Linked DNA regions of Homo sapiens: regions 1 and 2 are each linked to region 3. The links are contacts of gene promoters, found by promoter capture Hi-C in human tissues and cell types (Jung and others, 2019). All regions are on one chromosome and are shown on one strand. The core of a region is centred on a gene start or on the middle of the fragment in contact, and the rest is flanking DNA. Distances in the headings are between cores, read along the strand shown. Region 1 has its middle 110 kb from the start of SERPIND1. Region 2 has its middle 120 kb from the start of MED15. Region 3 holds the start of KLHL22 (kelch like family member 22).

Region 1 (5,064 bases), core at 1,829-4,328, 170 kb after region 3:
CCTGTAACTCTATCCCCCGCAACACACACACATTTTGTATTTAGATGTCTTTCAGTATTTTTTTTTTTTTTTTTTTTTTTTTTTGAGACGGAGTCTCGCTCTTTGGCCCAGGCCGGAGTGCAGTGGCGCTATCTTGGCTCACCGCACGCTCCGCCTCCCAGGTTCACACCATTCTCAGCCTCCCGAGTAGCTGGGACTACAGGCGCCAGCCAACGCGCCTGGCTAATTTTTTGTATTTTTAGTAGAGATGGGGTTTCACCATGTTAGCCAGGATGGTCTCGATCTCCTGACCTTGTGATCCGCCCGCCTTGGCCTCCCAAAGTGCTGGGATTACAGGCTCAGTATGTTTCTATATTGCCTATCCCTTTAAAAATTGTTGGGTTATATTATTATTTTAACAATTTTGTATTTTAGCCTTCACATGAAAGATATAGGTTGCTTATACATCACAACTATAGTATTCTAAATTTATCTGTGTACTTTTAGTAATGAGATTTATACCTTCAGATGGTTTCTTGTTACATGTTAGCATCATTTTCTTTCAGACTGAACAACTCCCTTTAGCATTTCTTGTAAACCAGGTTTGGTAGTGATGCATTTCCTCAGCTTTTGTCTGGGAAAAGTATTTATCTCTTCTTCATTTTTGAAGGATCTATTCTTTGGGTGTGGTTTTTTTCATTGGTATTGTTTTTCTTAAGCACTTTGAATATGTCATCCCACTTCTCCCATAGGAGGGAGGCCCTCAGCCTGTTTAATTTTTGCTGAGAACTCTGCTTCCTGACATATCAAAGGTCCTCAATATGTTGTTTGATTCACTTCTCTTGCTGTTTATAGTATCCTCTTTGTCCTTGACATTTGGAGTTGGATTATTATATGCCTTGGCATAGTTTTTTTTTTTTTTTCCTTGAGATGGAGTCTCGCTCTTGTTGCCCAGGCTGGAGTACAGTGGCACAGTCTTGGCTCACTGCAACCTCTGCCTCCTGGGTTCAAGCAATCCTCTTGCTCAGCCTCCCAAGTAGCTAGGATTATAGGCACCCACGACCATACTTGGCTAATTTTTGTATTTTTAGTAGAGATGGGGTTGCACCATGTTGGCCAGGGTGGTCTCGAACTCCTGACCTCAAGTGATTCACCTGCCTCGGCCTCCCAAAGTACTTGGGATTACAGGCCTGAGCCACCGCACCTGGCCACTTTGGCGTAGTCTTATTTGGCTTGAATCTGCTTGATGATCTTTGGTCTTCATGTACCTGGATATTTATATATTTCTCTTGAATTGGAAAGCTTTCTGTTACCATCTTTTTGAATAAGCTTTCTACTCTTTCTCTGCTTTCTCTTGAAGACCAATGACTCTTAAATTTGCTCTTCTGATACTATCCCATAGATTTCCTAAGCTGCCTTCATTCTTTTTTTTCTTTTCTTTTTTCTCCTATTGTGTATTTCAAATGGCCTGTGTGAGCTCACTGATTCTTTCTCTGTTGGATCAGTTCTGCTGTTGAGGCCCTCTCATGCATTTTTCAGTGCATCCATTATATTTTTCAGCTTTGAGGTTTTTGTGGTCTTTTAAAATTATTTCAATCTCTTTGTTAAATTTCTTTGATACATTTCCGAATTACTTATATTTTTAAAATTGCATTGATTTTCCTCAAAACAGCTATTTTTTACCTCCCTCTCTGAATAGTTTAACATCTTTATCTCTCCTAGGTTAGTCACTGGTGACTTGTTTATTGTTTGGTGAGGTCATACTTCCCTGAATGTTCTTAATGCATTTGGGCCTATGTTCATGCCTGGGAATTGAATAAGTCAGTATTTATTCCAGTCTTTGTAGTCTGGTCTTGTTTGTACCTGTCCTCCTCTAGATGGTCTTCCAGAAATTCCAAGGGTACTGACTATTGAGTTCCCTAAGGCTGGGGTCACTGAAGCTGTTTCAGCACCAGGGTGCCCTAAGCTCAGGTTCACTGTGACTCTTGCAGGACTGAGGTCCCAGAGGGCCCTGATGGACTTGGAGAAGATAAGGGAGGGGTTCCCTGGGTTCCCAGGCAAAGTGCTTCATTCACTTCCCTCTTCTTCCCATTGGAAGGAGTCTGGGTACTAAGCTTTGTGGATCTGGGAGAAGGGTGGCTTGGGCACTCCCATGGCCACTGCAGCTGGCACCACATACCCGAAGCCCACAGCCTCTAGGACCAGAGCAGCACTGGGGCTTGTCTGAGTCCTGTGGCCACTACTGCCTGACTGCTGCTGACTTATGTAGGTCTTGAGGCCGAGCTACTCTGCTGGTGGTGAAGCTGGCCAGGGTTTAGGTCCATCCCGCCAGGGCAGCAGGTTCTCTTCTACCTCCAGGCAGGTCTAGAGGTGTCTGGGAGCTCCTGCCTGGGATCAGGGCCACTGTGTTCTGCCTGATGCTGTGTCCACCGTGGTGGAGCCTGGACTGGGTTCTCCTCTTTCCTGCATAGGAAAGGAGTTCTCCCGGCACTGCACTGCCTGGAGTTGGGATTAGGGTAACACAGGCAGCCCTGTGGCCACTGTAGCGGATGTCATATATGAAACCCACAGCCTCCCAGACCAGCACATCATTGGTTGCTGGGGCTCACCCAAGGACCACAGTGGCTATGGCCTGCCTGCCACTGAAATTTATTCAGAGCCTGAGGCCACTTTAAACAGCTGGTGGTGAAGGAAGTCAGGACTCAGGTTTGTCCCACCGGGCAGTGGATTCCCTTCTAGCCCAGGTCATGTCTAAATGCTCTGTCTGTGGGCACCGGCCTGGAATCAAGGACCATGGGGTTCTGCCCAGTGCTGTGTTTTACTGTAGCAGAGCTGGTACTGGGCTCCAAGGCAAAGTTTAATGCACACTCTCTTCTCCCTCCTGGAAGTGGACACATTGTCTCTCTGCACTGCCTGGGGTTGAGGGAGGGATGGTATAGGCACTGCAAGACTGTCTTTTCCACCCTGTTTAATGTGTCTTTTCTTGTTTTTAAGCTAAAACCAGGTTCTGTGATCTGTCACCTGATTTCTTTGGCTCTTGTGAAGGTATTCTCTTGCTTAGATTGTTGGTGGTTCAATTTGATGTTCCTGCAGGGAGACAATCTTGTAGAGTTCTATTCTGCCATCTCGCTCCACCACTTCTCATTTATTTAATTGTTCTTCAACTTATTTCAACAATATTTTGCAGGTTTCAAAGTATGAATTTTGCACTGCTCTTGTTAATTTCTAAATTTATTACTTGTTTTGTTGGTATTATACATGGGTTTGTTTCCTTAATACCATTTTAAAGCAGTTTATTGATAGTATATAGAAATAAAATTAAATTTTTAGTATTGCATTTATATCTTGAAACTACGTCAAATTTATTTCTAATAGTATTTTACTGAATTTCTTAGAATTATATATGAGATCGTGCCATGTGTAAATATAAAAAAATTATTTTCTTTTCAATAAGGATGTTTTAAATTTTCCGTTCTTTACTACACCTCGCTACAATCTACAATATAATGTTGAATAGAATTTGCAAGAGTGGACATTCTTGTAACTGATTAGTCATTCACCCTCTCATTGCTGAGTATAATGATAGCTGTAAGTTTCATAGGTAACTACCACTAGTTTCAGGAAGTTACCTTATTGTTCGTAAATTTGGAGTGTTTTGTTTTTTTTTTGTTGTTTTTTTTTTTTTTTGGAGACAGAGTTTCACTCTTTTTGCCCAGGCTGGAGTGGTACAATGGCGAGGTCTTGGCTCACTGCAACCTCCGCCTCCCAGGTTCAAGCGATTCTCCTGCCTCAGCCTCCCAAGTAGCTGGGATTACAGGCGCCTGCCACCATGTCTGGCTGAGTTTTTGTATTTTTAGTAGAGACGGGGTTTCACCATGTTGGCTAGGATGGTCTCAGTCTCTTGACCTCGTGATTGCGCCCGCCTCAGCCTCCCAAAGTGCTGGGATTACAGTTGTGAGCCACCGCTCCCAGCCTGGAGTGTTTTTATTATTAGAATGTGTGATATTTTCTCAAATGCTTTCTGTCTGAGATGCTTATATATTTTTGTCTTTTATTCTGTTAATATGGTGTTTGCATGCAATGATTTTCAAATATTAAATCAATGGTGCATTCCTGGGGTAAATCACATCTGCGTATAGTGCATAATCTATTTTATATGTTTCTGGATTCAGTTTGGCAATATTTTGTTGAAGACTTTTGATTTTATAAAACAATGTGCTGGGCGTGGCGGCTCACGCCTGTATAATCCCAGCACTTTGGGAGGCCTAGGTGGGTAGATCACCTGAGGTCAGGAGTTCGAGACCAGCCTGGCCAACATGGTGAAACCCTGTCTCTACTAAAAATACAAAAATTAGCCATGCATGGTGGTGCACGCCTGTAATCCCAGCTACTTGGGAGGCTGAGGCAGGAGAATCGCTTGAACCTGGAAGGTAGAGGTCGCAGTGGGTTGAGATTGCACCACTACACTCCAGCCTGGATGACAGAGTGAGACTCTGTCACACACACACAAAATGAAAGATACTGTTCTATATTGTTTTGTGATACAGTTTTGGTGTCAGTAATCCTGGCTTTATAAAATGAATTGGGAAGTGTTCTCTCCCCTTTTATTTTCTGCAAGAGTTGGTGAACAATTGATATTAATTTCTCAGTGTGTTTGATAGATTTTGCCTGGGAAGCTACTTGAGATTTTTATTGTAAGTTTTTAAAATTACAATCCAATCTTTTTACCTTCTGTAGATCTATTTCGATTTTCTATTTCTCCTTAGTCCTTTCATCTATTTTAGTTTGTGTCTTTCTAGGAATTCATCCATTCTATCTAGGCTATCTGATTTTTTTAACATAAGATTTTCACTGCATTGTCTTGTATTTTTATTTTGTAATACTGGCAGTGATGGGTTTTCTTTTATTGCTGATTTTAGTAATTTGAGTCTCTTCTCTCTTTTTCTTGATTGACCTAAGTAAACATTTGCCAATTTTGTTATCTTTTCAAACATTTAATTTTGGTTTATTGATTTTCTCTGTTGTTTCATATTCCCTTTCTGTTGGCTTAACTCTTATTATGAAATTTTTTTTGTCTTTAAAAAT
Region 2 (5,165 bases), core at 2,455-4,954, 130 kb after region 3:
GAAATTGAACAAACAAAAACAGGGTATATGAACTGCAAATTATCTTGCTTTGATTGTATCTTAACCTTAAGAAATTGAGAGTGACTTAAAAGTGGAATCACCATGAGGAAGCACCCTGCCTCTCTCGGGTGTCAAACCTACCTTCCCAGGGTCGAGAAATTCCATCACCATGCTGTACTTCACAGGATTCACGCGCCTCTGTAAGCAGCGCAGGTTCCAGCCCACAAGGACACCATCCAGGCTGCCGAAAATGCTACCAGCCATGGGGAGATGGCGTGCAGCTCCTGAAACAGTGTGCGGTGAGGCTGCAGGCAGGACCAGCACCCACTCCTGCCCCAGCTCCAGGCCTGCACCACCTGCTGCCCAGCTCCCTCTGAGGAGGCCACTCCCTGGCTGAGACCCATGGGATCAGCCCTGCGCTCAAAGGAACCCTGGTGCGGTGATGCCAATGAGAAGAGCAGCTTTGGGTTCTTTCACTGGGGTACGTGGCTTACCAAGCAGTGCTGCTTTAGACGTGGGCCAGTTAAGTAAGTCAGCCTCTGATCAAAATACATTTTTTGTGTGTGATAAAAGCCTAAATTAAGGGAAAAAAAAAACAAAAAAATGAAAAAATGAAAAATAAAATAAAATAAACAAAATACCTATTCTTTTGAGACAGGGTCTCATTCTGTTGCCCTGTCTGGAGTACACTGGCGCAATGCACAGCTCACTGCAGCCTTGGCCTCCTGGCCTCAAGCAATCCTCCTGCCTTAGCCTCCTGAGTAGCTGGGACTGTGGGCACACACCACCACGCTCAGCTAATTTTTAGATTTCTTGTAGAGATAGGGTCCCAGTATGTTGCCCAGACTGGTCTCAAACTCCTGGCCTTAAGTGATCCTCCCACCTCAGCCTCCCAAAGTGTTGAGATTACAGGCATGAGCCACCACACCAAAAGATTTTTTTTTTAATGTCAGAAACTTCTGATGGATGCGAAGGATGCTCTATTAGAAAGGAAAGCAACACCCTTCCCAGAGTGAAGCCCTTAAAATCTAACTGACCTGTTGTCATTTGGTATTAACTCCTTGTCTAGGCCAGCTTCCTGGGCTTGACAATTCCAGGTGTGATTTAAATACATATTTTTAGCATTTACATCAGGGTTCCTCAACGTTGATGCTATTGACATTTTGGGCTGGATTCTTCTTTGTTGCAGGGAGCTGTCCTGTGCTTTGCAGGATGTTTCCAGCATCCCTGGCCCCTACTTACTAGATGCCAGTAGCACACACTCCCCATCACCCCCAGTTGTGATAATCAAAAATGTCTCTGATATTGCCAAGTGTCCCCTGAGGGACAGAGCACCTGTGGTTAAGAACTCCTGATCTGCAAGTTCACATATTTAAATGTGTCCATAAACATGACGGTCATGATAATGGGCCAGGACTCTGTGCCAGGCAGTGCTTGGAGTGGGGGTGGTGGGGGGAATTAGGAATTATAATAAAGTTTTTAAAGGAATGTGTAAGACATGCTCCAAAGAGAGATGTCAGCAGAGCTATACCTCTGCTGGAAAATCCTCAATGACTTTAACCAAGTCTTGGCATCACTGTGCAAAGGGCTTATTTACAGAGTCAGCTTTCAGGGTAGCCTAGAAGGTAGAACAAAGTGAAAAAATCATGAGGACATTCACTGCAGCTTTTAGTGATACTCTGGCTTGAGTCAAACAGAAATCCAAGTGATAGGTTATGAGTCAGACACATAACCACTGGCGTGATTCCCCAGCCCCTCATGTGTGTCAGTGGCCCAAAGGATGCTACTAGGAGAGGCTGTGGTTCTATGCACTCTGGACCAGGAACTCTCAGGCTTGCTTCCCAGTACCAACTCAGCGTGCTGCTCATCATCAGAACAGGACTGACTTCCACCAATCCATAAGTAGGGGTTGGCCCCAGGGTCAGCCCCAGAGCCAGAAGAGGATCTCGATTGTGTAAGGGCACCTCTCACAGACCACAGAGTACTACTGAGTTCGTACGCATCAAATGGAAATTTCCCACCTGATGGACCATCATGATTACACAGTTGTGATCATCAGTAAGAATGCCCAACAAAATCAGGGCTACAGCATCCTCTCTTAACTGAGCTGTCTTTTATTCAGCAGACAGTGAACCTACTAAACCAATGACCTTAAAACACAGGGCAGGGCCGGGCGTGGTGGCTCACGCCTGTAATCCCAGCACTTTGGGAGGCCAAAGTGGGCAAATCACAAGGTCAGGAGTTCAAGACTAGCCTGGCCAAAATGGTGAAACCTTGTCTCTATTAAAAAAACACAAAAAAATTAGCCGGGCTTGGTGGTGCATGCCTGTAATTCCAGCTACTCTGGAGGCTGAGGCAGGAGAATCGCTTGAACCTGAGAGGCAGAGGTTGCAGTGAACTGAGATCGCACCACTGCACTCCAGCCTGGGCGACAGAGAGAAACTCCGTCTCAAAAAAAAAAAAAATAAAACAAAGCAAAACAACAACAACAAAACACACACACACACACACAAGGCAGGTAAAAATTATAGATGGCTTGCACCAAGTAAACACTAAACATAAAGGCAATGGAGAGGCCAGAAAAGACTCAGGACAAGGACTAATAAAATCTACCCACAGTCGTGGGATATACGGAAAGCATCCTGACTACAAGGATAAAAATAGCGTCTGTGCAAATGGACTCACATCAGGAGAAACTGCTAGAATCTGTCTACCTCCAAATGCCTTGTCTACCTCCAAATGAGGGTGGATTTCACAGGATTTGAGACAAGAGATGGAGACCTGAGTTGTCTGGCCATGTGGCAGACCTGGTGGCTCTAGTGGGGTGCCCTGGGGAGGAACGTCCTTCCACATACATATTTACAAAAATACCTCCTAAGAACTAAAATTAGGAACTTTCATCACCAATACTTGCTCATACCTAACTTCTCGCTTCTCAGTATCATTTTTTCTTTTTTTTTTTTTTGAGTCTTACTGTGTTGCTCAGGCTGGTCTTAAAACTCCTGGGCTCAAGTAATCCTCCTTCCTCGGTGTCCTTAGTAGTTAGAACTACAGATACGGACCATTACACCCAGTTCTCAGCACCATGTTTAATAGTTAAAGTGCTAACCTAGCACCCCCTCAGAACATAAGAGTGTCTCCATTTTTCACTAATGACAATTATGATTATCAGAATGTTTCATGTCTGTTTAAGAACTTACAGATCATGAACACTCTGATGTACATCATTCTCATTTGCTCCTCCCCCTCCTCCTCCTCATACCCCCTTGGGAAGTAGAGAAAATAGAACTTGAATGAATTTGTCTTGTATGGGAAAACCCAGAGCCCAGAGCCCAGCGGTTGAGTAACCCCAAGGCCCTGTAGTAATAAGGGGGCACAGTCAAGCTTAAGGAGTCTGGCATTGCTTCCATCACACGCTCCTAAAAGACAACCACTAGAGAATTCTTCAAGTCAATGGGAAGAACATTCAAGTCCCACAGCTACAGAGCTGTGGCCACACTGACACTCATCCAGACAGCTGATATTTACCAGTAGAAAGCTGGGCCGCTGCAGGTGAGGGAACGCCATAAAAGCCTCCAGTGGAGAGTTGAAAATGGCCTTCTTAGCAAACCACTGTGGAAAAACAGAGACAAAATCTCAACATCTGCAGCACAGCAGAATCTTTTTATTTTTCTAGAGACAGGGTCTCATTCTGTTGCCCAGGAGAGAATGCAATAGCACGATCATAGCTCACTGCAACCTCAAACTCCTGGGTTCAAGCAATCCTTCCCCCTGAGCCTCCTGAGTAGCTGGAACTACAGGCACACACCACCATGCCTGGCTAATTTTCTTCTTATTTTCTTTTTTGTAGAGACAGGGTCTCGCTATGTTGCCCAGGCTAGTTTCAAATTCCTGGCCTCCACTGGCCCTCCTGCCTTGGCCTCTTAAGTGCTGGGATTACAGGTGTAAACCACTGCACCTGGCCCTAACAAAATATTACATAGTTTCACAATGCCCAGGAGAACATTTGTGTAACTCAACATGCATTACATTATCGATTCTCATGTCTTCTTTATTTATTTGTAGAGACAGGGTCTTGCTTTCCCACTCAGGCTGGAGTGCAGTGGTATGATCATAGCTCACTGCAACCTCAGACTCCTAAGCTCAAGCGATCCTCCTGCTTCAGCCTCCCAAATAGCTGGGACTACAGGCACACACCACCAGGCCCTGCTAATTTTTATATTTGTTGTAGAGATGTGGTTACATCATGTTGCCCAGGCTGGTCTTCAGCTCCAGGGCTCAAGTGATCTACTTGCCTCAGCCTCCCAAAGTACTGGGATTACAGGCGTGAGCCACCACGCCCGGCCAGCAATTCCCACATTTTACAGAAACACCATTCGCATGCAGCCCACAGTGGCCAGCTTCAGAGCCAAGTCTGTGGTACTGAATCCTTGGTAATGCTTGTACAGCACTTGCTGTATGCCAGGACTTGCTCTATACACCACACACACTGTCAGTCCCCAGGAGGGGAATGTGGTATGTGATGCTTCATAAACACATTGAACTCTTTCTGCCAAGGAACAGCCATTAACACCTTGGGGTTACTTGCAACTCACCTGTGGACTGTTGGTCTGAGCTATTGTCCATCACTTGCAACTCAGTGTACACAGGTTCATCAGAGCTGGTCCCAAAAGCAAGTCCAAGCGCTGGAGAGCATGAGTGGGAAATCTCACTTCCACCTCGGATGGAGAAAAACTTCAGCAAGATTGTCATTTTATCTTTCCGACCCAGATGGACTCCATCTTGACTCAAAGACAACCAGAACATCACCAAGCATCTCCTACAGGGCAGGCTTGGTACTAGGTGGTTTTATTTAGATTATTTCATGGAATGTTCAGGAGAATTGCTCCCTCTTCACTCCTGAATTCTTGATGCAGTTCTTCCACTTTCGCCCTTTCTTCTCGTCTCTGTCTCATTCAGCTCCCTCATTACAAACCTTCCAACTGGCTGGATGGCGCAGTTGCTCAACCAGCAGAGAGCACTGGGGTAGCCCCAAATAAATGTTCATGTCATCTCCAAATTACCAGCACTATTCCCAGGTCCCAATTCAAGACAAAACCTTATCAGCCTCATCAGTGAGAGCACGTTTTCACCGAGCTGAGTAAAAACTTAGGTACAAGACCATT
Region 3 (5,079 bases), core at 323-2,822:
TAACTAGGCATGGTGGTGTACACCTGTAGTCCTGGCTATCTGGGGTGAGACAGCTTGGGGTTCACTGCAGTCTCAAGCTCCCAGGTTCAAGTGATCCTCCCACCTCAGCTTCCTCAGAAGCTGGAACAACAGGAGCTCACCACTGCGCCCGGCTAATTTTTCAAATTTTCTTTGTAGAGAAGAGGTTTCACTATATGGTGTAGGCTAGAGTGCAGTGGTAGGGTCTTGGCTCACTGCAGCCTTCATCTCCTGGGTTCAAGCGATTCTCCTACCTCAGCCTCCCGAGTAGCTGGGATTACAAGCACGTGTCACCACACCCAGCTAATTTTTGTATTTTTAGTAGAGACGGGGTTTCACCATGTTGGCCAGGCTAGTCTCTCCTGACCTCAGGTGATCTGCCAGCCTTGGCCTCCCAAAGTGCTGGGATTACAGGCATGAGCCACCGCGCCCGCCCCCAGTCTCATATCCCCAATTTTAGTCATCACAAGCCAAGTTCCCCGTTTTGTACTGTTCGAAGTTTCAGTGGGGAGAAGAAAGGAAGCTTAATGTGCCACATAGCTACAAACTGAAGGATACAAGATGAATTTTTATGAAGTGATGGATGGCAGAGTCAAAATCATTTCAGAGGAACTTTCAGTTCGGTACGATTTTACTGAGTAGATACCCTCAGCCTTCTGTAGGGCCCCCGAACGAGCAGTATCCCCTCAAAGAAACTCAATCCTTGGCAGCATGAAGCAAGGTCGGCCACAAAGGCAAAGGGGGCGGCTGCGGTAGAGGAGAGGGAGTGGGTGCTGATTCCCAGCGGGGCAGCCTTCCAAAGGGTGCGCTCTGGAAGAATCTCCCAGGGAGCCGTCTTGGAGGCACTCGGCCCCGCGGAGGGCCGGAGCGAGGGCGCCCAGTGAGGAGCCCAGGCGGAAGGTGGCGGTGCCCCGCTGCCCGCCCCAGATCCACTCGGCTCGGCCCGCACCGGATCTAAAATGGTCAGAACTGGCAGCCGACGCTTCGCGCTCTGGTGATTTTGCACTGACAGCGCGATCTCCGGCTCCTCTCAGGAAACCGGGAGAGCTGGCAAGGCTGGGCTCCTACGGCTGCAGTCCCCGGGCCCGATCGAGGGAACTGAGGCTCGTCAGGCCGGCCCCAAATCGCCCGCCTGTTGCAAGGCCGCCCGCTCCAGCGCGGAGGGTCGCGGCCAGGAAGGCCGCATTCGGACCTGCCGCAGGCAACAGGGCCCGCCCGGGTGCCAGGAGGCCGGCGCGCCAGCAGCCGCGCTGAGGAGGCCTCGCACCCTGGCCCCTGGCCGAGCGCCAGATCCCGGCCCCTACGCGCCCGCGCCCGGGGATCCCGCCGGCCGCGTCCCCGCCACGTCAGGCCGCGGGCTCTCCTCAGGTCGCCGCCCCCGAGCCTCCGGCCCGCGCCCGCCCCCGCGCCCCTCGGACTCCGCGCCGCTAGCTTGTCCCCGGCCCAGCGATGCCTGCTTGCCGCCCGACCCCCGCGTTCGCTGCCGCCCGGCCCGTTCGGCTCACGCCTCGCAGCTGACCTGGTGCCGCCGCCAGCCGAGGCCGCACTCGCAGCTGGAGGGAGGCGGGAGGCGGGAGGCGGGAGGCGCGAGGCGGGAGGCTGGGCGAGAGGAGCCGGCGGGGCGGGGGCCTGGGCCGTCACGTGGGTGCGCCGCGCAGGCGCCGGGCGGGCCAGACGTAGGCCCGGGGGTTCCCGGCCTGGCCGGGTAGCAGCGCGGGGGCGGCCCTGGGGCGGGGAGACAGGGGGCGGCTCCACTCCGGCGCTCTGCGGAGGACAGCAGCGATCGCCAAGGCTCAGTGAGTCCCCGCACTAGCGCGGCACCTGGCACTTGGCGGGGCCGAACCAACGAATGAGCGAATTTGCCGAGAGTCGCCCCGTCTGAATCCATTGACTCTTTCCTTGCCTCGGTCCTACCCTCATTCCTCGACTCACTTCCTCCTGCCCTTCCTCACTATCTCCCTCCCCGCTCATATCCTCCCTCTCCTTTCCTCATTCCCTTCTTCACTCTCTTCTCTCCTCTCTTACTCCCCCCCTCTCATTCCCTCCCTCCTTCACTCTCTCATTCCTTCCCTTCCTATCTTACCCACCATTCCCTTCCTCCCTCACTCATTCACTCCCTCCCTGTCTCCCCCTCTCATCCCCTCCCTCTCTCATTCCCTTTCCCTCCCTCCTTAACTCTCGTTCTCTCCTCCCTCTCTCATTCCTTCCCTCCCTGTCTCATTTCCCCCCTTCTTTCCCTCCCTCCCTCTCCTCTTCTCCCATTGCCTCCCTCCCTCTTTGATTCCCTTCTTTCCTCCTCTCCTCCACTTGTTCCCTTCGTCACGCGCTCATTCCCTCCCTCCCGCGGCCTGCTCCTTCCCCGCTCCCTCCGCGGTCGGTGCCGCTGACCGTAGCGCGCCCCCTGCGGGATATCGGGGAGAATCGCTTAACACCGCCAGAGTGAACAGGTGCTAGTTTGTGTGCCCGTTCCTTTACTGAGATTTTGCAGTAAATCTAATTCCCAGTCTTAAAGCCTGGTCCCAGAGGTCCGTGCGCGGGTCTTGGCATTCATTGTTCTCCACCTCACCTTCGAGCAGGTCCCATCCTCCGAGGCGTATCCGTAATGGCTGCGCCCAGAGCTTGGAGCCACAGAGCCTCCTGATGGGATAAGGTTGGAGTGTCCCACACTGTGGTTTTGAGAGGGACTGTGAAGGGTGGAGAGAGTGGTAGGGGGAGGATGTGGCTGGAGATGGCTCATGGTTAAAAAGAAAGGTGGGGCCGGGCTTGGTGGCTGGCGCCTGTAATCCCAACACTTTGGGAGGCCGAGACGGGCGGATCACGAGGTCAGGAGATGGAAACCATCCTGGCCAACATGGTGAAACCCCATCTCTACCAAAACACACACAAAAAAACTAGCCGGTCGTGGTGGCGCGCACCTGTAGTCCCAGCTACTCGGGAGCCTGAGGCAGGAGAATCGCTTGAACCCGGGAGGCAGAGGTTGCAGTGAGCCGAGATCACGCGCCACTGCACTCCAGCCTGGTGACAGAGCGAGACTCCGTCTCAAAAAAAAAAAAAAAAAAAAAAAAAAAAATTGGTGGAAGGGGAATGTAAAAGGAGGAAAATACACGGAAGAGAATTGCTGTCCTGGCTGAGTCCAGAGAGATAACTGAGGGTCCCAGACAAGGATCAAGAGAACGGGATTGGCCTCCAGAGGCAGAGGTTCCAAATGGGAGTGGGCTTCCTCCTAGAAAGACTTTCTGGAGGAGACCCCCCTACTGTGTAACAGAGGAGGACTTTGGGATTAAGAAAAGCATTCCAGGAAGCCGACAGTGTCAGCAAACGTGGAGGTGAGATCCTTCAAAGTGAGTGGTGTGGAGGTTTCCAGAATTTTCTGAGCCTGAAGGGAAGGTTGGAGAGCAGACCCTGCCCTTTGGAGGCTTGACTTAGCCCTGAGGGCACCCTGTAGCCAGGGTGGGCAGATGCCAATATGGTAGAGACGAAGACTGAGTAGGGAGCCAGCCACAGTGCTGTGGTCTCAGGCAGGGAGTGAAGACCAGAGTGGAGCAGGCTAGAAACCTGGGAAGGAAGCAGGTTCCCCAGTATAAGCCCAGTGATGTGTGAAGAATGAGCCCAGGAGATGGGTGGGGAAGTAGGCCCACCCTGCCTACAGGGGAGCCAGAGCAAGAGCAGGTCTGGGGGAAGATGAGGCCCCCCTTGGCTCCAGGTAGGGGAAGACTGACCTCCAAGGCCCAATGGGACCAGGTGTACGGGTGGACCCAGAGAGGAGAGGAAAAGGAATCCTGGGGCAGCAACAAGAAGGCCACTGTGGTCTGAATGTCGGTACCCCCAAAATTCATATGTTGGAACTGAATCCTCAGTGCGATACTATTATAAAGTAGGGCCTTTGGGAGGGGTTTAGGTCATGAGGGTGAAGTCCTCACCATGGGATCAGTGTATAAAAGAGGTTCGAAGGAGCTCATCCCCCACTTTTGCCAGGTGAGGACACTGTAATAAGCACCATCTTCAAGGCAGAGAATCGGCTGGGCGCAGTGGCTCACGCCTGTAATCCCAGCACTTTGGGAAGCCGAGGTGGGAGGATCATGAGGTCAGGAGATCAAGACCATCCTGGCTAACATGGTGAAACCCCATCTCTACTAAAAATACAAAAAATTAGCCAGGCATGGTGGTGGGCGCCTGTAGTCCCAGCTACTTGGGAGGCTGAGGCAGGAGAATGGCGTGAACCCGGGAGGCAGAGCTTGCAGTGAGCTGAGATCGCGCCACTGCACTCCAGCCTGGGTGACAGAGCAAGACTCCGTCTCAAAAAAAAAAAGCAGAGAACGGACCCCTCACTAGACACTGGGGCTTTTTTCTGAAGGCTACTGTGTCATATAAAATTTATATTAAATAAATTGATATGCTTTTCTCTTGTTAATCTGTCCTTTGTTAGAGGGGTGTCAACCAGGAACCTTGTGATGCGTGAGGAAAAAATATTACCTTTTCCCCCTACTCTTTCTGGCACCCAACAAACAAGTGGGGTGGCAAAGACACCCCACTTGGGACAACTGGCAAAAGGTAAGCATTCTTACCAAGGTTAACTGTCCCATATCACTGCCTGTAGTACTCAGCTGAGAGTGGAAGGTAAAAACTTCTTGTCCCTTCCTTTCCAAATTCAAATTAGCAGAAGAAAACATTGTGTCTGGATTGTGACTCTTGCTTAAATTTGGTTGAGGGGTAACTGTTTGTTATTGATCCTTTCCTCCCAGGCACAGCTACCTCTTTCCTGTTTGTTTTATTTGTGTCCTGAGAGCTTGGCTTTATGACCAGTGAGAATATTCTCCCTGATCTCTGAATAGCCAGTGGGTGCAAGTGACAGCTTGCTTTAGGACAGCTTGCGTTAGGGTTGCAAGTAACAGCTTGCATTATTACAAACTCCTCTGTCCCGGTCAGAAAAAGAGAAAGTTTGGTTTTTGTTTGTTTGTTTGTTTTTTGTTTTGTTTTAATAGTCTTGCTCTTTCGCCCAGGCTGGAGTGCAGTGGCATGGTGGCATGATCTTGGCTCACTGCAACTGCTGCATCCTGGGCT

The links. Contacts are between HindIII fragments. The study calls those that stand out against the background at their distance.
Region 1: a contact is called between a fragment that was not itself captured here and the fragment with the promoter of KLHL22 in region 3, in 3 of the 25 tissues and cell types used here (H1 embryonic stem cells, mesenchymal stem cells and pancreas).
Region 2: a contact is called between a fragment that was not itself captured here and the fragment with the promoter of KLHL22 in region 3, in 2 of the 25 tissues and cell types used here (H1 embryonic stem cells and IMR-90 fibroblasts).

Annotation. Positions count from the first base shown.
Region 1 is chr22:20,661,868-20,666,931 of GRCh38, forward strand. No RefSeq gene overlaps it. Among named protein-coding and RNA genes, the nearest start is that of SERPIND1, 110 kb to the right of the region's middle. The HindIII fragment of the contact is 5,707 bases long and covers 226-5,064 here.
Region 2 is chr22:20,622,568-20,627,732 of GRCh38, forward strand. It overlaps the pseudogene SMPD4P1. Among named protein-coding and RNA genes, the nearest start is that of MED15, 120 kb to the left of the region's middle. The HindIII fragment of the contact is 4,060 bases long and covers 1,675-5,165 here.
Region 3 is chr22:20,494,223-20,499,301 of GRCh38, forward strand. KLHL22 (kelch like family member 22) reads right to left here and starts at 1,573. Exons shown (of 7, transcript NM_032775.4): 1 at 1,538-1,573. It overlaps LOC101928824 (a long non-coding RNA gene), which reads left to right and starts at 1,691. Exons shown (of 4, transcript XR_007068011.1): 1 at 1,691-2,465; 2 at 4,445-4,569; 3 at 5,019-5,079. RefSeq lists a silencer at 1,233-1,892 and an enhancer at 2,087-2,739. The HindIII fragment of the contact is 15,001 bases long and covers 1-5,079 here.